Regions from separate parts of the Homo sapiens genome. Here regions 2, 3, 4, 5, 6 and 7 are each linked to region 1. The links are contacts of gene promoters, found by promoter capture Hi-C in blood cells and fetal thymus (Javierre and others, 2016). All regions are on one chromosome and are shown on one strand. Each heading gives the region's core, a stretch centred on a gene start or on the middle of the fragment in contact. The rest is flanking DNA. Distances are from core to core; before and after follow the strand shown. Region 1 holds the start of GLYR1 (glyoxylate reductase 1 homolog). Region 2 overlaps UBALD1 (UBA like domain containing 1). Region 3 overlaps ALG1 (ALG1 chitobiosyldiphosphodolichol beta-mannosyltransferase). Region 4 overlaps MGRN1 (mahogunin ring finger 1). Region 5 holds the start of C16orf89 (chromosome 16 open reading frame 89). Region 6 overlaps MGRN1 (mahogunin ring finger 1). Region 7 overlaps NAGPA (N-acetylglucosamine-1-phosphodiester alpha-N-acetylglucosaminidase).

The links. Contacts are between HindIII fragments. The CHiCAGO score rates a contact against its expected background, and 5 or more counts as called.
Region 2: a contact is called between a fragment that was not itself captured here and the fragment with the promoter of GLYR1 in region 1, in 3 of 17 cell types (neutrophils, fetal thymus and endothelial precursors). The highest score is 6.6, in neutrophils.
Region 3: a fragment that was not itself captured here is called in contact with the fragment with the promoter of GLYR1 in region 1 in 1 of 17 cell types (M2 macrophages); the score reaches 5.9 in M2 macrophages.
Region 4: a contact is called between a fragment that was not itself captured here and the fragment with the promoter of GLYR1 in region 1, in 1 of 17 cell types (neutrophils). The highest score is 7.4, in neutrophils.
Region 5: a contact is called between the fragment with the promoter of C16orf89 here and the fragment with the promoter of GLYR1 in region 1, in 1 of 17 cell types (M2 macrophages). The highest score is 6.5, in M2 macrophages.
Region 6: a contact is called between a fragment that was not itself captured here and the fragment with the promoter of GLYR1 in region 1, in 3 of 17 cell types (erythroblasts, neutrophils and megakaryocytes). The highest score is 6.3, in erythroblasts.
Region 7: a fragment that was not itself captured here is called in contact with the fragment with the promoter of GLYR1 in region 1 in 6 of 17 cell types (megakaryocytes, M2 macrophages, M1 macrophages and 3 more); the score reaches 22.6 in megakaryocytes.

Annotation. Positions count from the first base shown.
Region 1 is chr16:4,845,847-4,848,705 of GRCh38, reverse strand. GLYR1 (glyoxylate reductase 1 homolog) reads left to right here and starts at 1,418. Exons shown (of 16, transcript NM_032569.4): 1 at 1,418-1,478; 2 at 2,496-2,532. The coding sequence starts at 1,441. It overlaps UBN1 (ubinuclein 1), which reads right to left and starts at 1,225. Exons shown (of 18, transcript NM_001079514.3): 1 at 496-1,225. RefSeq lists silencers at 545-634, 645-1,364 and enhancers at 417-1,259, 1,555-1,614, 1,915-1,974. The HindIII fragment of the contact is 6,120 bases long and covers 1-2,375 here.
Region 2 is chr16:4,609,358-4,612,216 of GRCh38, reverse strand. UBALD1 (UBA like domain containing 1) reads left to right here. Exons shown (of 3, transcript NM_145253.3): 2 at 1,662-1,724; 3 at 2,234-2,859. The coding sequence ends at 2,584. Among named protein-coding and RNA genes, the nearest start is that of UBALD1, 4.1 kb to the left of the region's middle. RefSeq lists an enhancer at 480-1,115. The HindIII fragment of the contact is 5,022 bases long and covers 1-2,859 here.
Region 3 is chr16:5,084,130-5,086,988 of GRCh38, reverse strand. It overlaps ALG1 (ALG1 chitobiosyldiphosphodolichol beta-mannosyltransferase), which reads right to left. Exons shown (of 13, transcript NM_019109.5): 13 at 1-2,239. The coding sequence ends at 2,108. It overlaps EEF2KMT (eukaryotic elongation factor 2 lysine methyltransferase), which reads left to right. Exons shown (of 8, transcript NM_201400.4): 8 at 1,257-2,705. The coding sequence ends at 1,357. Among named protein-coding and RNA genes, the nearest start is that of EEF2KMT, 12 kb to the left of the region's middle. RefSeq lists an enhancer at 1,849-2,761. The HindIII fragment of the contact is 997 bases long and covers 948-1,944 here.
Region 4 is chr16:4,630,221-4,633,079 of GRCh38, reverse strand. All of the region lies in intron 1 of MGRN1 (mahogunin ring finger 1), which reads right to left. Among named protein-coding and RNA genes, the nearest start is that of MGRN1, 6.8 kb to the right of the region's middle. The HindIII fragment of the contact is 6,629 bases long and covers 1-2,859 here.
Region 5 is chr16:5,064,539-5,067,397 of GRCh38, reverse strand. C16orf89 (chromosome 16 open reading frame 89) reads left to right here and starts at 1,442. Exons shown (of 8, transcript NM_001098514.3): 1 at 1,442-1,697. The coding sequence starts at 1,490. The HindIII fragment of the contact is 15,659 bases long and covers 1-2,859 here.
Region 6 is chr16:4,647,172-4,650,030 of GRCh38, reverse strand. The region is part of intron 1 of MGRN1 (mahogunin ring finger 1); the gene reads right to left. Among named protein-coding and RNA genes, the nearest start is that of MIR6769A, 23 kb to the left of the region's middle. RefSeq lists an enhancer at 2,382-2,859. The HindIII fragment of the contact is 6,118 bases long and covers 1-2,859 here.
Region 7 is chr16:5,027,354-5,030,212 of GRCh38, reverse strand. NAGPA (N-acetylglucosamine-1-phosphodiester alpha-N-acetylglucosaminidase) reads left to right here. Exons shown (of 10, transcript NM_016256.4): 5 at 1,205-1,333; 6 at 2,028-2,233; 7 at 2,320-2,367; 8 at 2,834-2,859. Among named protein-coding and RNA genes, the nearest start is that of NAGPA-AS1, 4.9 kb to the left of the region's middle. RefSeq lists an enhancer at 567-1,766. The HindIII fragment of the contact is 6,851 bases long and covers 1-2,859 here.

The DNA.
Region 1 (2,859 bases), core at 169-2,668:
AATACGCTTTAAAGATCACTTTGTCTTAAAAATACACACGCAGTAAATGACAGTCCGTGCAGCTAATTCTTGGTACTTCAGGGAAACTGATCTCCCAAGAAAAATCAGGCTGCGGGACGACCCAGTACGCTAAACACCGACTTGCAACCGAAATCTCTAACCACCACAATGCCTTGGGGAAATGCGTGTCGACTCGCCACCTTTGCCAGCTGGCAGTGACTCAACAAGAGCCCGACACCAAGTCTAAGTCAATCCTTAACACTGTGGAGTCTGTGATCGGGACTGGGATCTTTTGCAAAATTGTGATTCTACCTGGTCTGCTGAAGTTTGGGCCGACGCTGCGCTCAACTGCAGTTAACACTTCCCAGTTCATGGTTCAGTTTTAAAGTGTCCAAACTACGCCCGGCATCTGTCTTCCTGTTGTCACAACTTTTTCAAAAGTGCAAAACTAGGGCAAGGCTAACGAGAGAGCCCGGACCCGACAACGACACGCACCTTTGTCCCCAGCGCCGACGCGGGCCGCAGACGTCCCCCCGCGGCGGTCCTCATGCCGGTCCCCGGGCGGCGGCGCAGCTAGCGGTCGGCTGCTAAGCCGTGGCTCCCAGCGGGCGGGCGGCCCGCGCCTCGGCCCATGGCCGGGTCCCCGAGCCCAGGGGAGCCTGGTGTGCCGCGCCGCGCGCCGGCCCAGGAGGAAGCGAAGAAATGCCAACTCGACGTCCGCGCAGCCACTCCGGGGACACCAGGGGGTCGGGGGAGCAGCCTCCGGTCGCCCCAGGAGAACTTGCGGCGCGGGACCCCGCGCTCAGACGGCGCCTCCGAAAGCGGCCGTCGGGAGGAGCGCTCCAAAGAACACGGGCGGCGGGAGCGGACGGGCGCGGACACCGGGGCCTCCCGGCCTGCGGCCAAGCAGAGTTGCCGGGCGCGGGAGCCCAGACCCGGCGGAGGCTGAGTTCCAGGCCGCGCCGAGCTCCGTCAGGGTAGCTCACTGGCGCTGCGACGGGGCCGACCAGCGCCTCGGGCTCGGGAATGGCCCCGGGGCCCGCGCCGGACCAACGGGCGTAACGGAAGCGCCGAGAGGGGAGGGGCGCGGAGTCCAAGACCCGGGGGCGGGGCGAGCCGCGAGGCCGGCTCCCTCTCGCGCTCAGCCGGTCGCACCGTCGCCGCCGCCGCCGCCTCAGACCGCGGGCGCTTCGTTGTCACGAGCCGAAGGGAGGGGGAAGGAGCCGGGAGTCTCTGCGCTCCGGCGCGCGGAGACCGCGGCGCTCGCGTCACGTGCCCCTCGGTCGACCAATGATCCCCGGCGGGCGCGGTGACGTCAGAGTAGCGGCGTGGCCAGTGACAGCCGGCCCCCGTCACGTGGTCGGGCCCACTCCAATGGGCGGCGCCGGGGCGACTTGCTGTTCCCGGCGGCCCGTGCGTCGGCGGTGGTTGGGTGGTAAGATGGCGGCTGTGAGTCTGCGGCTCGGCGACTTGGTGTGGTGAGTCCGAGCGGCCGGGCCAACCGAGACGCGCCGGGGAGCTACCCGCCTGGGCGCGGGGTTCGCTGCCGGCCCTGGAGCTGCCTTTTTATGCGCTCCAGGTCGCGGAGAGAGGGGAAGAGAAGGTGCCGGCGCTTGCGAGCGGCGCCAGGCGGAAGGGGCAGTCCAGTCCCGGGGGACCGAGGCCGAGGGTGGCCACGTCGGGCACCGGCTTTGATCCCCGAGGCCGGCCGGGTGGGGTCTGCACTCGGGGCCCAGATACTGGCGGCCCCCGTGAAGGGAGCCGCCGGTGCCGCGAGGCTTCCCCGGACGACCGGTCCCCGGGGTCTTGTTGGGGCTTCCCAGAAAGCAGAAGCGCCGGGGACCGGACCTGCGAGATCTGGCCGGTGCCATTCGGTCAAAGCCCAGGTTGCGATGCAGCCGACCTGTGCGGCCGGCTCAGCCGGGGTTGTCTAAACCGGACTGCTGGCGTTGCCCCGCGAAGAAACGGCGGGGGGACTTCTCCTTTACAACCGATGGCTTGGCAGTGACCAGTGCACGCTTGGGTGCCTCCCGCGGTCTGCTTCTGTGTCCCAGACAACCGCCCGAACCAAGACTTTGTCGCCGCCTCCCTCGAGCTGCGTAGCTTGTTTCTCCACCCAGAGGAAGGCTTCCATTAGCATTTGTCAAAGCCAGGCAGGTCTCCTGTTGAATTAAACCAGACTTAGGGAGGGAAAGTCTGTGTTTACAGAGGAAGCTGTCCTCCCACCCCCGTCATTAAGAAGCTCTAGACAAGTGACTTTTGACAGTTGTGTTGTTCTGTATTCCTTGTCAACAGAAGAATGGATATGCGTTGTGCACATAAGTATACAATTTTGCATTTTACTTCTGAGGGTGTTGGGCCCAGCTATGAAAGCTTTTGTTTCGGCATTTGAGGATGCCAGCAGAGATTTAGGAAAATAAATTGCGTATTGAGTGGGTTGAAGGAGATGGACTGGCTTTTGCAGGGCAAGTGTTGACTCTTTGTGTTTTCTCTAGGGGGAAACTCGGCCGATATCCTCCTTGGCCAGGAAAGGTGAGTGTCTTGCTACTAAAGGAAGAGATCTGAAGTTGGGTTTGAAGAGGTGGAGAATGTAAGATGCATTCCTCTCAGTTTCTAGTATTGAGTTAAATTGGGCTCATTCAGATGGCACTTAGAATTTTTTTTCCCCTAGTATCGGTTATTTTTTAAAAGGCAATGCAGTATACACCAGATCATTAAATCTTCTCTAAACCCTTATTTCTGGATTTAGAGGAGGTTTATGAAGTTTCTTTTTTAACCCCGGAAATAATTCTAGTCTGAATTTAGCTTTATGCTTAAATGTAACAAAAGGAGAAGAAAATATAAATTATCCAGGAAGAA
Region 2 (2,859 bases), core at 1-2,500, 240 kb after region 1:
TGGCACGTGCCTGTAGTCCCAGCTACTCGGGAGGCTGAGGCAGGAGAATCACTTGAACTAGAAGGCAAAGGTTGCAGTGAGCCCAGATAACGCCACTGCACTCCAGCCTGGTGACAGAGCGAGACTCCGTCTCAAAAAAAAAAAAAAAAAAAATCTAAATAGCCTCCCACCCATACCCCCTGATCGAGGGCAGGCCCCAGGAGCCAGGCTGGATTTCTGGGTGTGCTGGGCCTGGGAGGGCCAGGAAGTCAAGCTGGCATTAGGGGAGTGGGCCTGAGGGGTGGCGGTAGGGGCACCTCGGCGGCTTGAAGCTCCAAGTCTGGGCCTGGGACTTGGCAGGGCCCCGAGAACCCCTCAAATACTTGTGGGGCTCCCTCACTGGCCCTTGCGCAAGAGCAGCCTCCGTTTCCTGGGACAGGCCTCCCCACCCCTGCAGGGCCTCAGCCAGGACATAGCAAATCCCAGCGCCTCCCTCTGGGGCTCCTCAGTTCCCAGTCACCAAGGACCTCTGGAGCCTGCTGAGCTGACACACACAGGAAAGGGCTCCAGGCTCGCTCTGTCTCCCCCACCTGTCCTGGCCTTTCTGAGCGCCCCCATCTCTGTCTTCTGCCGACCAGCTGACCCTGAGCAAGTCACTTCCTACCTTCATTTCCCTGCCTGTAAGACAGCAGTCCCTGCCTGTGGGGTTAATGATGACAGTCCACGGCCCCGCTGGGATGGAGCCCTGCTGGGTGCCCGCACCGTGCTCAGTGTGGCATGCGGCCCGGGTGTGGAGGGAGACGGTGGAGCATCCCGTGCCTAGCGTGGTGCCAGCCAAGGGCGGGTGGCTGGGGAGCTGTGCTGGGAGCTGTCGTAAACCCGTGGTGGCTTTGATCCTAGGGCCGTCTTTCTGCTCCACTTCCCGGGCACTGTTCCGAGGGAGGCTCAGGTGGGGAAGCGAGTGAGCCTAAAGCCCAGGCTTGTCTCCTTGGTGCCAGGCCCTGCTTGCTGGAATCTGGTGATCTTAGGAGGTCACTGTTGCAAGGGAGGGGACCCAGGAGCCACCTAGTCGAACCTCTTTGTGGTACAGATGGAGAAACCAAGGCCCAAACAGTGGCCCCCTTGATCAGCCAGAAGCAGAGCTGGGTGGGGCAGCAGGGGATCCCCACCACCAGGCTCAGACTCCTTCAGGATGCTTTTGCTTCGCAGATGAGGAGACCGAGGCTTAGAGAAGAGTAGAGACTTGCTACCCGTTGAGGTGGTAACAGCCAGGCTAGAATCTCCTGAAACGGGGCAGGGTGGGGAGGTCTGGTTGGGCTACCTGGGGCCGGGCGCCTTTCCCCCAGGATGGGGTGTACTGCCCGCCCTCCCCCAGTCATGGTGCTGGTGCCAGCTGGTGCAGGGGGAGGGCTCTGCAGGCCTTAGGCACTGAGGCAGGTGGCGAGCAGCAGGGGAAGGGTCTTCTCCACCCACCCCAACTGCCCAAGGTTCCGTGGCTCCTCCTTAGACAGCAGTGAGGGTTGGGGGTGACAGGCAAGCCACTGAGCCTCAGCACCGCGACTCACCCCTCCCACTCAGCAGTCCAGCCAGGGTCATCCCCAGCCTCAGAGGAGCCTGGGAACAAGGGCAGCGGCAGGGCCGGCGGGGGCCTGGAGGGTGAGCAGGGGCCTTTCTTCCTGCAGACAGCCCTCAGCGCCTTTTTCCAGGAGACCAACATCCCCTACAGCCACCATCACCACCAGATGGTAAGTGTCCCCGGAGTCCCCAGTTCTGGATTGGGCGGAAGGAGGCCGAGCTAGTTCTGTGTATAAGCAGCCCCTGGCCCCGGTGTACGAGGGCGCTGGTGCAGGCGGGGCTCGACCTCTTTGGAGATGGGTCAGCAGGAGTCCCGGCTCCGTGGGTCCTGCACTTAATCTTGCCTGTGCCAGCTCCCCCTGAGACCTGGGGGGCGCTGGCCTCTGGGGCAATGAAGCTCCTTACCCTACAGCCCCCGGGGATGCTGTGGCTGATGGAAAGGGGTGGGCTGGGAAAGCCTCGTGGCCCCAGGCACCGTGGGCTCCTGAGAGTGAGGCTGGGTCGGTTCATCTCAAGGCTTCTCCTCTGGGAACCCCTGGGCGGCGGACAGGCTTGGGGATCTGGGGAAGGAACACAGAGCCTTCCGAGAATGGGCCAGCCACGCATCTCCCCTTGGGAGGCAGTGGGGGCCCCTCCAGGAAGGGGTGCTCACCCCATCTCTCCTCTCTTCCCCTCACAGATGTGCACCCCCGCCAATACCCCTGCTACACCCCCCAACTTCCCTGACGCTCTCACCATGTTCTCCCGTCTCAAGGCCTCCGAGAGCTTCCACAGCGGTGGCAGCGGCAGCCCGATGGCCGCGACAGCCACGTCACCCCCGCCACACTTCCCCCATGCCGCCACCAGCAGCTCTGCGGCCTCCAGCTGGCCCACGGCGGCCTCGCCCCCGGGGGGCCCACAGCACCACCAGCCACAGCCGCCCCTGTGGACTCCAACACCCCCTTCTCCGGCTTCAGACTGGCCACCCCTGGCCCCCCAACAGGCCACCTCAGAACCCAGGGCCCACCCTGCCATGGAGGCAGAGAGATAAGGGAGGCCCCTCCCCCCTCCCGGAGGCCAGGACCCCGTGGGGCGGGGGAGAGGACGTCTCTGCGGGCCCCCTTCACCCCTTTTCTGTCTGCACCCCTTGTTCCCCGGAGCCCTGGAGGGGAGAGCGCGGACTCTAGCCAGGCAGGGACACGTCTGGTGCCAGAACACGCAGCTGCCCACACGCAAGGTCATGGCCCCAGCGGCCCCGGCACATGGAGTGGTTCAGCGCGGCCTGGGTGCCTGGCGGACAGAACTTCAGAGACCACGCAGCCTTCC
Region 3 (2,859 bases), core at 197-2,696, 240 kb before region 1:
AAAATCGTCCCGGGTCACAGTGTCTCACGCCTGTAATCCCAACACTGTAAGAGGCTGAGGCTTTGGGAGGCTGAGGTGAGCAGATCACGGGAGGTCGAGTTCAAGACCAGCCTGGCCCACATGGTGAAACCCCATCTCTACTAAAAACACAAAAATTAGCCAGGCGTGGTGGTGCACGCCTATAGTCAAAGCTACTCGGGAGACTGAGGCAGGAGAATCACTTGAACCTGGGAGGCGTTGCAGTGAGCTGAGATTGTGCCACTGCACTCCAGCCTGGGGAACAGAGTAAAACTTCGTCTAAAAACAAATAATAAAAGAGGCTGAGGCAGGAGCATCACTTGAGGCCATGCGTTCAGGACCCCATCTCTACAAAATAAAAAAATTACTGGCATGGTGGCACGCACCTGTCATCCCAGCTACTCAGGAAGTGGGAGGATTGCTAGAGCCCAGGAGTCGAGGCTGTAGTGAGCAATGACTGTGCCACTGCACTCCAGCCTGGGTGACAGAACAAGATCATATCTCAAAACAAAAAAAAAGAATCATTCTGGCTAACGGCTCTTCAGACATCTGTGCTTATGAGAACAGCAGCCCCTTCTAAGCTGTGTGTGTGTGTGGGTGTGTGTGTGGTGCGTGTGGTTTTTTTTTTTTTTTTTTGAGACTTAGTCTCACCCTGTCACTCAGGCTGGAGTGCAGTGGCACAATCTCAGCTCACTGCAACCTCCACCTCCTGGGTTCAAGCAATTCTCCCACCTCAGCCTCCCAAGTAGCTGGGATTACAGGCACTCGCCATCATGCCTGGCTAATTTCTGTATTTTTGTAGAGATGGGATTTCACCATGTTGGCCAGGCTGGTCTCGAACTCCTGACCTCAAGTGATCCGCCCGCCTTGGCCTCCCAAAGTGTTGGGATTACAGGCATGAGCCACTGTGCCCGGCCGCTTTCTAAGCTTTGTGAAGAGTGGGTTGACTATTCAGATCTCTGCTTCTGTCCCGCTGTGCCAAGTGCTGGGGCAGACACAGGCAGAGAGTGGACAGCGGCACGGTGCCTGCTGCTAGCCATTTCTATGCAAAACCAGCTTTCTGGTCCCATCCTGGAGGCCAATTCTAGGCACCTGGGTGGGCCTGGGAACCTGTGAACCAAGTAAACTGACTTGGACACCCCCCTACCCCGCCAGGCCTGTCCTAGCAGCCCCACACAATACCCTCATGTCCTGTCCCCAAACACCGCCATCCTCAAACACATGTGCTCTGTTTCCAGGCCGGGCCGGGATCAGATGGGAAGTGGAACCTCGTCATGAGCAGAAACTGTTTCCCTACGAAGAGCACTTGGAGATGGCAATGCTGAATCTCACCCTGTAGGACTCACACACGACTCCAACGGGATTGTGAGAATCAAGTCACTCTCATGGGAAGAATTTTTATATGGGAAAGCGGATAAAACTTTCATTGGACTGGAATGTTTGGAGAATGTTAATTTCCAAATCAGGAACCACAAACTGCCCTCTAATAAGACATCGGCTATCTAAGCGTGTGGGTGCCCCCTTTCTGCCAGCAGTTCTGGTTCTTAAGAAAATCACCATAAATCAGACATGAAAATTCTGGCTCCAAAAATAGCATTTTCTTTGTGCAAATAAAAACGTGTGTATCAAGTATGATGTTCCCCCAACGTGGACACACTCAGTTCCTCACAAAGCCAAGCCCACTGCAGCTGCCACATCCCTGGGCTTACGGTGCAGCAGGTGCTTTTTTCAAGACAGGAATCAAAATGTTAGGAACACGGCAGAAAGGGGACACCTGGAGACCAAACGCAGGATGAGGAGTTCTGCAGAGGTCACAGGGAAGTCACAGAACAGTAATACGCTAGCAGGGGCATGGGGCGTGAAGAACAGAAGAAGAGAGGAAGCGTTTCCAAGCCTCCAGAGAAGAAATCAAGGCCAACCAAAGCTTCCCGGGTCACAGAACCAATTCTTTTACCAGGCAGTACCACTGCTGTCATTTCAGCTTCTGGCCACTGGGAGGTGCTGCTCGAAAGGGTTTGCCCTGAGACTCCAAGAAGAAGCTGCGGGAAGGACAGCAGGGGTCCTGGGGTTTTAGCCTCTGGCCCAGGAGTTATGTGTCCATAACCAAAGGGAGCACAGTCTGCACCCAGCTCTCATCCCATCGGAGCTGCTGCGACTCCCGCAGGTTCTTCCGGAACTGGTTTAGCTTGCCCGCAGGATCAGGAAAGTTTGAGAAAAGCATCTGCAAAAAAATAAAGAGCAGAGCTTACCTCATTGCCTGTCCCCACCCCATCCCAGGTCACCACCTGGCTGACCCCAGGTCCCCGACCCAACAACAACCCCTCCCAAGTCCCTAACTCCCTCACTTGGACTCGAGACCCTTCACACCCCAGCAGCACTCCGCCTCCAACTTGACATCACAGTTTCTGGAAACTTCCCCGCATGTCCCACTTTCCCACACTTGGTGCCCTGGAGCACCTCCCGGCCTCTACGTGCTGCCCATTCCCCTGTGAGCACCCTCCTCTCGGCCTCTGGCCAACGCAGTCTCACCCATCTGTGGGTAACAAGGGGGTGTCGGTGTTCTTTGCAGCCTTGCTAAACTGTCTGAATCAAGGATCACAAACTACAGCCTGCAGGCCAAATCCAGCCCACAGCCTGTGTTTGTAAATAAAGTTTTATTGGAACAAAGCCACACCCCTTAATCTACAGATGATCTGTGGCTACTTTCACACCCCAACAGAGTACCATGGTTCTGACAGAGACTGGGGAACCCAGTCTAAACGACTTCCGACCTGGACCTTTACTGAAAATCCTGCCAATCATTCTGTTGGCAAGAATGATGTATTACTTTTTGCAATAAGA
Region 4 (2,859 bases), core at 197-2,696, 220 kb after region 1:
ACAGAGTCTCACTCTGCTGCCCAGGCTGGAGTACAGTGGGGCAATCATAGCTCACTGCAGCCTCGACCTCCTGAGCTCAAGCAATCCTCCCACCTCAGCCCACCAGGTAGCTAGGACTAAAGGTGGACGCCACCACACCCAGATAATTTTTTTATTTTTTGTAGAGACAAGGTTTTGCCGTGTTGCCCAGGGTGGTCTCAAACTTCTGAGCTCAAGTAATCTGCCTGCCCTGGCCTCCCAAAGTGCTGGGATTACAAATGTGAGCCACCACGCCTGGCCGTGAGTGACTGTTTCATGGCCACTGGGTTTCTTTTTGGTGTGATGAAGATGTTCTGGAATTAGACAGTGGTGATGGCTGCACAACACAAGTATACCAAAAACCACTGGTCCCGGCACGGTGGCTCATGCCTGTAATCCCCGCATTTTGGGAGGCCGAGACGGGCGGATCAAGAGGTCAGGAGATCGAGACCATCCTGGCTAACACGGTGAAACCACATCTCCACTAAAAATACAAAAAAATTAGCCAGACGTAGTGGCGGGTGCCTGTAGTCCCAGCTACTCAGGAGGCTGAGACAGGAGAATGGCGTGAACCCGGGAGGCAGAGCTTGCAGTGAGCAGAGATTGCGCCACTGCACTCCAGCCTGGGCGACAGAGCAAGACTCCGTCTCAAAAACAAACAAACAAACAAAAAAAACCACTGGACTAGATGTTCTCAGTGTGACTCGTATGCTGTGAATTAGATCTCAACAAAACTGTTATTAAGAATAGCCGGGCGCAGTGGCTCATGCCTGTAATACCAGCTCTTCCGGAGGCTGAGGTAGGCGGGTCAAAAGGTCAATAGATCAAGACCATCCCTGCCAACATGGTGAAACCCATCTCTACTAAAAATACAAAAATTAGCTGGGCGTGGTGGCATGCACCTGTAGTCCCAGCAACACAGGAGGCTGAGGCAGGAGAGAATCACTTGAACCTGCGAGGCAGAGGTTGGAGTGAGTCAAGATTGCGCCATTGCCCTCCAGCCTGGGTGACAAGAGCAAGACTCCATCTCAAAAAAAAAAAAAAAAAAAAAAAAGGAAATTTTTTATCACTACTAGATTGGGAAGGCAATATATCAGTAATAGATTGGCAAATATCACTTGCCTTAAATAGGTAAAGTTATCTGAAAAAAAAAAACAACTGAGAAGCTAAATATCAAAATTAATGTAGAGATATACCATGTTCATGGATTCCCAGAGTCAGCACTGTAAAGACAGCAATTCTCACCACATAGATTTATATATCCAATGTAATACTTATCAAAATTGCAGGCTGCTTTTGTAGAAATAATTGACAGGCTAATTATAAAATGTATATGGAAATGCAAAGAACTTAGCATAACCAAAACAATTTTGAAAGAGAACAAAGTTGGAGAACTTATGCTACCTGATTTCACAACTTACTATCAAACTACTGTAAACAAGCCAGTGTGCTGCTGGTCTAAGAACAGACCAGGATTTCTCAGTCTAAGCACTATGGATATTCTGGGCCGATTTATTCTTAATTGTGGGGGACTGTCCTGTGGCCTCTACCCAACAGATGCCCCCAGCTGTGACAATCACAAATGTCTCCAGACATGGCCAAATGTCCCTTGAGAGGGCAAAAATGCCCCAGTTGAGAACTTCTGGGACACACATAAATCAATGGAACAGAATGGAGAGTCCCAAAATAAACCCTCACATTCATGGTTAACTGGTGGGGTTCTTGTCGCTGTTGTTTTGATTTTTAAGAGACATGGTCTTGCTTTGTTATCCAGCCACAATGCCTGGCTTAGGTCAACTAATTTTTGACAAAGGTGCAAAGGCAATTTGATGGGAAGATGATAGTCTCTACAACAAATGATACTAAAATAATTGAATTCCATCCACAAAAAAGGGGGGTTTAGATCTTTATCTCAAGCCATAAGTGAAACAAATTAATTTGGTCAGCTACAGCGGCTCACACCTGTAATCCCAGCACTCTGGAAGGCCAAGGTGGGCAGATTGCTTGAGTCCAGGACTTTGAGGCCAGCCTGGACAACACGGTGAAACCCTGTCTCTACAAAAAAAATACAAAAACTTTGCTGGGCATAGTGGTACACATACATAGCTGGGAAAACCCAGCTACTTGGGAGGCTGAGGTGGGAGAATCACCTGAGCCAGGAAGTCAAGGCTAGAGTGACATCATGCCGCTATACTCTAGCCTGAATGACAGAGTAAGACCCTATCTCAAAATTAAAAAAAAAAAAAAAAAAAAGAATTAACTCTAAATGGATCAAAGACCTAAATGTAAGAGCTAAAACTATAAAACTTCTAGAAAAGGCCGGGCACAGCGGCTCACGCCTGTAATCCCAGCAATCTGGGAGGCCAAGGCAGGCAGATCACAAGGTCAGTTTGAGATCAGCCTGGCCAATATGGTGAAAACCCCGTCTCTACTAAAAAATCCAAAAATTAGCCGGGCGTGGTGGCTCGCACCTGTAATCTCAGCTACTCAGTAGGCTGAGGTAGAAGAATCGCTGGAACCCGGGCAGAGGCTGCAGTGAGCTAAGATCATGCCACTACACTCCAGCCTGGGTGACAGAGGGAGACTCCATCTCAAAAAAAACCAACAACAACAACAACAACAAAATGCTAGAAAAAAATAGGAGAAAATCTTTGTGACCTTGACCTAGGCAAAGATTTCTTTTCTTTCTATTTGTTTTTTTTTTTTTGAGACGGCGTCTCACTCTGTCGCTCAGGCTGGAGTGCAGTGGCATAATCTCGGCTCACTGCAACCTCTGCCGCGCTCCGGGTTCCAGCGATTCTTCTGCCTCGGCCTCCCAATTAGCTGGGACTACAGGCACAT
Region 5 (2,859 bases), core at 193-2,692, 220 kb before region 1:
TATTGCAAAAGCGTGTACCTGATAAAGGAATGAGTTTAGCTTCTTTCTCTTCTCTCTCTCCAGCTCTCGTGCCCTTCTGCCCTCCACCGTGGGATGATATAGCAAGAAGACCCCCACCAGATGCAACCCCTTGAACCTGGACTTCCCAGCCTCCAGAACTATGAGCCAAATGAATTTCTTTTCTTTATAAATTACTCAGTCTCAGGTATTCTGTTGTAGTAGCACAAAACTAAGACACTGCCCAGTATACCAGCTACATGTGACTATCAAGCCCCTGAAATATGGATAGTCTGAATTGAAATGTGCTTAGCCTGGCATGGTGGCTTACATCTGGAGTGCCAGCTCCTTGGGAGGCTAAAGCGCGAGGGTCCCTTGAGCCTAGGAGCTCGAGACTGCAGTGAACTATGACCACATCACTGCACTCCAGCCTGGGCAACAGAATGAGACCCTGTCTCTTAAAAATAAAATAACAAAATAAAACAATTGTGTTGTGAACATAAACTACTCATCAATTTCAAAGACTTAGTATGACAAAAATAAAAACAAATCATTTCTATATTGATTACAGATGTAATTATAATATTTTAAATAACTGGGTCAAATAAACTAGATCGTTAAAATTAACTTCACCTGCTTATTGCTGCTTTCTTAGATGTGGCTACTAGGAAATTTCGAAATGCACACATGGCTCATCTTTGTAGCTCCAATTCTATTTCAATTGGACGGTGCCCCTTTAAGGAAGTTTGCCTCAGTTCAAGGCAGACGTGCCCTCAAATGAGTTTGTTTCAAATTTATTTAAAACAAAGCCTGGGTGTGGTGGCTCCAGCCTGTAATCCCAGCACTTTGGGAGCCCAAAGAAGGTGGCTCGCTTGAGGCCAGCGGTTCAAGACCAGCCTGATCAACATAGTGAGACCCTGTCTCTATTAAAAAAAGCTACAAAAATTAGGCAACATGGTGGCACATGCCGATTGTCCCAGCTATTCAGGAGGCTGAGGCAAGAGGATCTATTGAGCCCAGGAGGTCAAGGCTACAGTGAGCTGTGATCAAACCACTGCACTCCAGCCTAGGCAAGAGAATGAGACCCTATTTCAAAAAACAAAGAAAAAAAAATTCGTTTTGCTTTCAGAGCTTTTGGATTTCTGGGTTGAATTGCAATTGCTAGATCAAAGATCTAGCCTGTGAGCCTGGAGAATCAGGGCTGAGAAGGACAGGGCGGGCAGCCCTCTCCCCAGCATCCCGTGGACAGCAGGCTCTACGCCCAGGACTGGCCTAACCTCCGCTGCCTAACCGTCATCCCCCTGCAGCCACCCTTCCCAGAGTCCTTTGCCCAGGCCACCCCAGGCTTCTTGGCAGCCCTGCCGGGCCACTTGTCTTCATGTCTGCCAGGGGGAGGTGGGAAGGAGGTGGGAGGAGGGCGTGCAGAGGCAGTCTGGGCTTGGCCAGAGCTCAGGGTGCTGAGCGTGTGACCAGCAGTGAGCAGAGGCCGGCCATGGCCAGCCTGGGGCTGCTGCTCCTGCTCTTACTGACAGCACTGCCACCGCTGTGGTCCTCCTCACTGCCTGGGCTGGACACTGCTGAAAGTAAAGCCACCATTGCAGACCTGATCCTGTCTGCGCTGGAGAGAGCCACCGTCTTCCTAGAACAGAGGCTGCCTGAAATCAACCTGGATGGCATGGTGGGGGTCCGAGTGCTGGAAGGTGAGTGAGCCCCAATTCCTCTGGCTGGACACTGGGAAGCTAGCTCTCAGCTTTGTCCCCTGCCCTGCTCTGTACGCCTGGGACCTGGCAGACTCCTGGCCCCAGTATAGCCTGCCTCGGCTATAAGGAGAGAGGAGGCCAGGGGCTGGATCTTCCTGGCGGCTGTGGCCCAGCTAACTGTTACGCAATTTTTTAGAAGTAGGAAAGATTTAAAGGCAACATGGGAAGGGATTTGGGAATTATCTTTTTCTCAGAATGAAATGATCCATTTGACAGCCCCTCCTCACAACGCCACGAACAAGGGGAGCAGGGAGAGTGCCCCGTTAACAGATATTTGTGGGAAGACCCCTCCCCTTGAATGAGGTGGCTGTGGACAAAACTGAGGACCCTCAAGATCGGGTTCCCACCCCACTTCCTCCACTTGCAGCCAAAGTCTCCTGAAGGTTCTGCAAAAACAGTCAAGTGTTTGTTTAGCTTTGAGAGCTATAAGATCCCCAAGAAGGGGGCTGGAGACAGGCCAAGGTAAACACACACATGCGCACATCATGCACACACACACAAGCACACATGCACGCACGCACACACACATGCACATCACACACACAAGCACGCATGCACGCATGCACACAAGCATATCACACACACACACAAGCACACAGGTGGCTCCCACAGGGCTGGGTGCTTCCTGGGGCGCATGTGATAGCAAAAGCTGTAGTTCACTAAGTATCTGCTCAATGTGGGCACAACCCAGGTGCATTGCATGGGGTACTTCAGTGCCCTCTCCCCGTCATCCCTGAGGTTACACCCATTATTATTATCCTCTTTTAGCAAAGAAGGGAGGGGGTTCTCTTAATCATGACTGGGCAGCATTCACTGGGAAAGCGGCCCCACCTAACAGCCTCAGACCAGGGTCCCCACTCCTTGGCAGCTGCAGTGAGCCCGGCTTCTCCACCCACGCCACATCCCACATCCACTGCCCCTTCTCCTCTCAATAATCTTGCTCCATAACAGATTCCCTAGGAATTCAGTGCTTAATACAACCACACCCGTGAACTGTGCCCAGAAGGGAGCAAAGGCAGTGCCAGTGCCTAGAACAGAGCTTCAGAACTGGACTGCCCAGGTTCAAATCCTGGATCTCCCCCAACTGGCTGCATGGCACTGA
Region 6 (2,859 bases), core at 237-2,736, 200 kb after region 1:
GCGCCCAGCCTGGAAACAGTTATCGACTCTGAGGCTGAACACAGCCTGGTGGGAACATCTGACGGCCAAGAAGCTCGGCCCTGAGAAAGGCTCCACCTGAGGGGAGCTGATGCAGACAGGCCAGCGGGTGCCCCTCATACCCTCTGCCTCGGCCACCTGGCCTCGGGCCTTCCAAGGTGGCCTCCTGGCCTCTCCACACTGCCAGCCTCAACACCCTTCCCTGGACGGCTCCTCGCTGCTCCCAGCCCATCAGCCAGCATCCAGCTCCAACACCACTTTCTTCTGTAGTGGCCTGAGCTGTGTTTCCGATGAAGTTCGGGTCCTACTCCACACCCAGCCCCTACCTGTGCATGTGACCTTATTTGGATCTAGGGTCTTTGCAGATGTAATCAAGTTAAGAGGAGGTCATACTGGATTGAGGGGCTCTAAATCCAGTGACTGGTTCTTAACAGAAGAAAGGAGAGGGAGGTTTGGACGCAGACTTGAAGGGAAGGCCAAGGGAAGAGATGGAGGCAAGAGATTGCAGTGATGCGGCCACAAGCCCAGGGATGACAATGAGTGCCTGGGGCCCCAGGAGTGGGGAGAGGTAAGGAAGAGTCCTCCCCCAGCGCCTTCGGGGACCGTGGCCCTGCTGGCACCTCGGTTTCTGACGTGTGCCTCTGTGATGGTGAGAGAATACATTTCTGCTGTTTCAAGCCACGGTTAGAGGTCATTTGTCACAGCCACCCCAAGAAATCCTTACACATTTCGTGACCCCAGGCTAAGTCACCTTACCCCCAAATCTGAGCCCTGTGTACTTTCCATGGCAGCACCCAGCCGGGTTTAGAAGTCTCTGTGGATCTGGGCTAGTTCGTTCAGTCTGACTCCCGCGTGAGGGCGGGAGGCTGTAGGTGGCGCCCATCAGGACCCTGGCACACTTAGGCATGAGATCTGCGCTTCTCCTATGAGGAGGGGATGGACAGCTGGGCATCCTCAGAGACCTGCGCTCACAGCCCTGCCAAGGAACACTGAGAGCATGGCCTCTCCCCTGGATTCCTGACCTGACGCCCAGATCCAGCCCCATTTCTCCTGGCACACAGCCCCGGAGAGGAGGACCCGGGTGACCACGGGAAGAGTCCCCGAGAGGAGGAGCCGGGTGACCACGGGAAGAGTCCCCGAGAGGAGGAGCCGGGTGACCACGGGAAGAGCCCCGGGAGGAGGACCCGGGTGACCACGGGAAGAGCCCCGGGAGGAGGACCCGGGTGACCACGGGAAGAGCCCCGGGAGGAGGAGCCGGGTGACCACGGGAAGAGTCCCCGAGAGGAGGAGCCGGGTGACCACGGGAAGAGCCCCCGGGAGGAGGACCCGGGTGACCACGGGAAGAGTCCCCGGGAGGAGGAGCCGGGTGACCACGGGAAGAGTCCCGGGAGGAGGACCCGGGTGACCACGGGAAGAGCCCCGGGAGGAGGACCCGGGTGACCACGGGAAGAGCCCCCGGGAGGAGGACCCGGGTGACCACGGGAAGAGCCCCGGGAGGAGCCCCCGGGTGACCACGGGAAGAGCCCCCGGGAGGAGGAGCCAGGTGACCACGGGAAGAGTCCCCGAGAGGAGGAGCCGGGTGACCACGGGAAGAGCCCCCGGGAGGAGGACCCGGGTGACCACGGGAAGAGTCCCCGGGAGGAGGAGCCGGGTGACCACGGGAAGAGTCCCCGAGAGGAGGAGCCGGGTGACCACGGGAAGAGCCCGCGGGAGGAGGAGCCGGGTGACCACGGGAAGAGTCCCCGGGAGGAGGAGCCGGGTGACCACGGGAAGAGTCTCCGAGGGGAGGACCCGGGTAGCTGCAGGGACCTGTGGATTTCAAGGATGCTCAGAATACATGGTCCTCAACCTCACGTATTGCAGGGACTTCTGGGAATTCTCAGAATTCCCACTGGGGGCCCCAGAATCCCTATTCCTTCTCAGAATTCCCACCTGAGGCCAGGTGGGCCCTTCCCGGGGCCTTCAGCGGGAATTCTGAGACCTTCAGGCGCTGCATGGTCTGTGTCCTTCCCGAGAACCACGGCCCCAGTTACAGTTGGCACAGCCACGGCCACCAAGACCAGCCGGGCCCCAACAGTGATTCCAGGGTGCTCCTCCTGAGGGAGGTGGCCCAGAGCCAGGTGCCCAGCATGGCTGCTGACTGCCAGGAACAGTGGTTGGGAGCCGCAGCCCCACCTAACCCAGCATGCAGAACAGGGACCACTGAGAGCTGATGACGACCAAAAACAAAGAAGAAAGCGGCAACTGCTTCAGCAAGTGGGACGCCCTGATTTTATGGCCCACCACACAGCTGCTGGAACCAAGCTGATCCAGACATACCGATGTGGAGCGAGTCACAGAGTATTTGCAGGTTAAAGAAAACAAGTTAACACACTGCAAGATCATTTTCTGAGGGGTCACCGCACGCACTGAGATGTGCGCAACACAAATTGTGAATACACAGAGAATGTTCTGGAAGGACACGCCCACAAGGCTGCCAGGGAAATTGGTGCAGAGCAGACGAGGGGTGGAGCAAAGCCTATGTGGTGGTTTTAAATCAAAAGAAAGAAAGAACACCTGCAGTACAGTGAGCCCAGGATGCCTTCCCTGATTACCTGGGCCTTGAACATAGCCCCACCACATTGAAATACACAAAGTCTTTAAAGGTGAATTTTCCACACAGCCTACGGGGCGGGGCCAGGGGCCACAAGGCACCCCGTGCCTCAGGGCACGGTGGTCTCCGGATGCTGGCCTCAGACCAACCTCAAGCCCCAGTCATGGAGCAGGGCTGAGACAGGGCCCGGCCCAGAGCCACCTGCCTGCTCCTCCAAGATGTGCACCATGTTCATGAAAACCACATGA
Region 7 (2,859 bases), core at 98-2,597, 180 kb before region 1:
GCCGATTCCAAGAACTCATCATCTTCAGCTTTAGGCCTCACCTTTCCTGAACCCTAGATAGGATACAAGGAAATGGTCACAAAGTGAGCAGGGAGAAGATCTTGGTTCCAATCCCAGCTTAGCCATCGATGACTTGTCTACCCACCTATGCCGTAGACAAGTCCCTCGGCCTCCCTGAGCCTCATTTCTAGCCCCTGTAAAGAGAGTGTTTTGGTTTGCTCTGGTTGCATAACCAGCACAAATTTAGCAACACTCAGCAGGGAATGTTCTTTTGTTTGTTTGTTTCTTTGAGACAGGGTCTTACTCCGTCGCCCAGGCCAGAGTGCAGTGGTGCAATCTCAGCTCACTGCAACCTCTACCTCTCAGGTTCAGGTGATCCTCCCACCTTAGCCTCCCAGGTAACTGGGATTACGGGCACCCGCCACCACACCCAGCTAATTTTTGTATTTTTAGTAGAGATGGGGTTTCATCATGTTGGCCAGGCTGGTCTCGAACTCCTGACCTCAGGTGATCCATCTACCTCGGCCTTCCAAAGTGCTGGAATTAACAGGCGTGAGTCACCGCACCTGGCTAATTTTTGTATTTTTAGTAGACACAGGGTTTCATCATGTTGGCCAGGCTGGTCAACTTGGAATGTTCTATGTTCAGGGTGTCCCATGGACAAAACCAAGATGCTGGTTAGGCAGGGCTCTTCTCTTATCTGGAAAGAATCCTCTTGTTTAGGTTGTTGGAAGAATCCCCGTCGCCTCCTCAGTTGTGACTGAGGTCTTGGTTTCCCTGCTGGCCGCCATCTGGGGCCTCAGCTCCTTCAAGCTGCCCAGGTTCCTTCCCATGTGTGTCCTCTCCCCCAGTTGTCCGGCCACCCTCTCATCCCCCTCGTATTTCAAATCTCACTTCCTATTCTGTCACCAGCCAGAGAAGGCTCTCTGTGTTGAACACTCCTGTGATTCCAGTGGCTGCACCCAGATCCTCCGGGCCGTTTCCCCTCCCTTAAGGATTCCTATGCCATGTAACAGCACAGGCATGGGTGTGATCTCACGTGTTCACAGCTTCCGGGGGCTAGGATGAGACATGCTTGGGGGCGGGGGCCACTTAGAAATGTGCCTGCACTGTGGGCGTGATGCTCTGCACTGTGGAAGGAAAAGGAGTTAAATGAGAAATGATGGTGGGCGCTGAGCCTGAGCAGCGCCGCTTTGTGCCGCAGCATCAACCTGTGGGAAATGGCGGAGTTCCTGCTGAAACAGGACGTGGTCAACGCCATCAACCTGGATGGGGGTGGCTCTGCCACCTTTGTGCTCAACGGGACCTTGGCCAGTTACCCGTCAGATCACTGGTAAGCACGTGAGAGCCGCCTTCGTGAGGGCTGAAGTCCAGGTCTGCCCCAGCCTGTCTCATTCAGCCAATATTGAGTGCCTGCTATGTGCCAGGCCCCGGGGGTTCAAGAGAGCAGAAATTGCTGCAGTCCCTCCCCCAGGATGCCAGTACTACCCAGGCCTAGGAGCAGGGTCAGTTGGTCAGCAAAGACCTCCCTGAGGATGACAGAATAAGAACTGAGATCTGAAGGAGGTGGTAGCTGGGTGGGGGTGGGAGAGCCTTCCGGGCAGAGGGCACCACATGTGAAAGGCCCAGGGCTGGGAGGGATTGTAGGGAGCGGAGGAACCTATAAAAGACTGGAGAGGGCTGGGCACAGGGGCTCACGCCTGGAATCCCAGTGCTTTGGGAGGCCGAGGTGGGAGGTTCGCTTGGGCCCAGGAGTTTAAGACCAGTGTGGGCAACATAGACCCTGTCTTTATGAAAAAATAAAAAAAAATTAGGCAGGCGTGATGGTGCACACCTTACGGTTACAGCTGCTCAGGAGGCTCGGGTGGAAGGATCGCAATACCTCATCTCAAAAATAGATAGACGCCATCTTGTAGGTAGGTAGGTAGACAGGTGAGAATGGAGAGAGGGGTGGTTGGGGGCAGCCTGGAGGGAGTTGAGGGGCCGTCTGGGGGTGTCCTCTCCTCACACATCACATCCCTCTACAGCCAGGACAACATGTGGCGCTGTCCCCGCCAAGTGTCCACCGTGGTGTGTGTGCACGAACCCCGCTGCCAGCCGCCTGACTGCCACGGCCACGGGACCTGCGTGGACGGGCACTGCCAATGCACCGGGCACTTCTGGCGGGGTCCCGGCTGTGATGAGCTGGACTGTGGCCCCTCTAACTGCAGCCAGCACGGACTGTGCACGGAGAGTGAGTGGGGGTTCTGGGGAGGGGGCTCTGCCCAGCCCTGCCTTGCCCTAGGCCCTCACCTGGCCTCCCCGGTCTTGTCTCGGCAGCCGGCTGCCGCTGTGATGCCGGATGGACCGGGTCCAACTGCAGTGAAGGTAGGAGCTGCCACGCCACTAGCGGATGGGGAGACGGTGGCCCCCGGCAGCCCCCACTGCTCCTCTGCTGCTTCTGTCTCCACCTTCTGGTCTGGGAAATGCTTGCCTCTTGTCTTCTGCCCCGGCCTCACCTGCACATCACTGTGTGACTCCCCTGTGGCTGCTGCGGCCCGTTCCACAAAGGGCTCGGCTAAAACAAGGGTCCCCGGGCTCTGGCTCCAGGGCCCACCTCAAATCCAGCACGGTCTTATCTTGAGATCCTAACTGCAGTGCCTCTGTAGAGATTCTGCTTCCAAATAAGGTCACGTTCAGGGGCTAGTCCAGGGAGGGCAGGGGGTGCTTCACCTTTAGCCCGGCTCTGTACACATGGGCAGGGGCAGGTATCCTGTCCTGTCGAGAAAGGCTCTGACACTGGAGGCCCCAACCTTTCTCCTCCCTCCTCCCTCCTCCCATCTCCTTTCCATAGAGTGTCCCCTTGGCTGGCATGGGCCG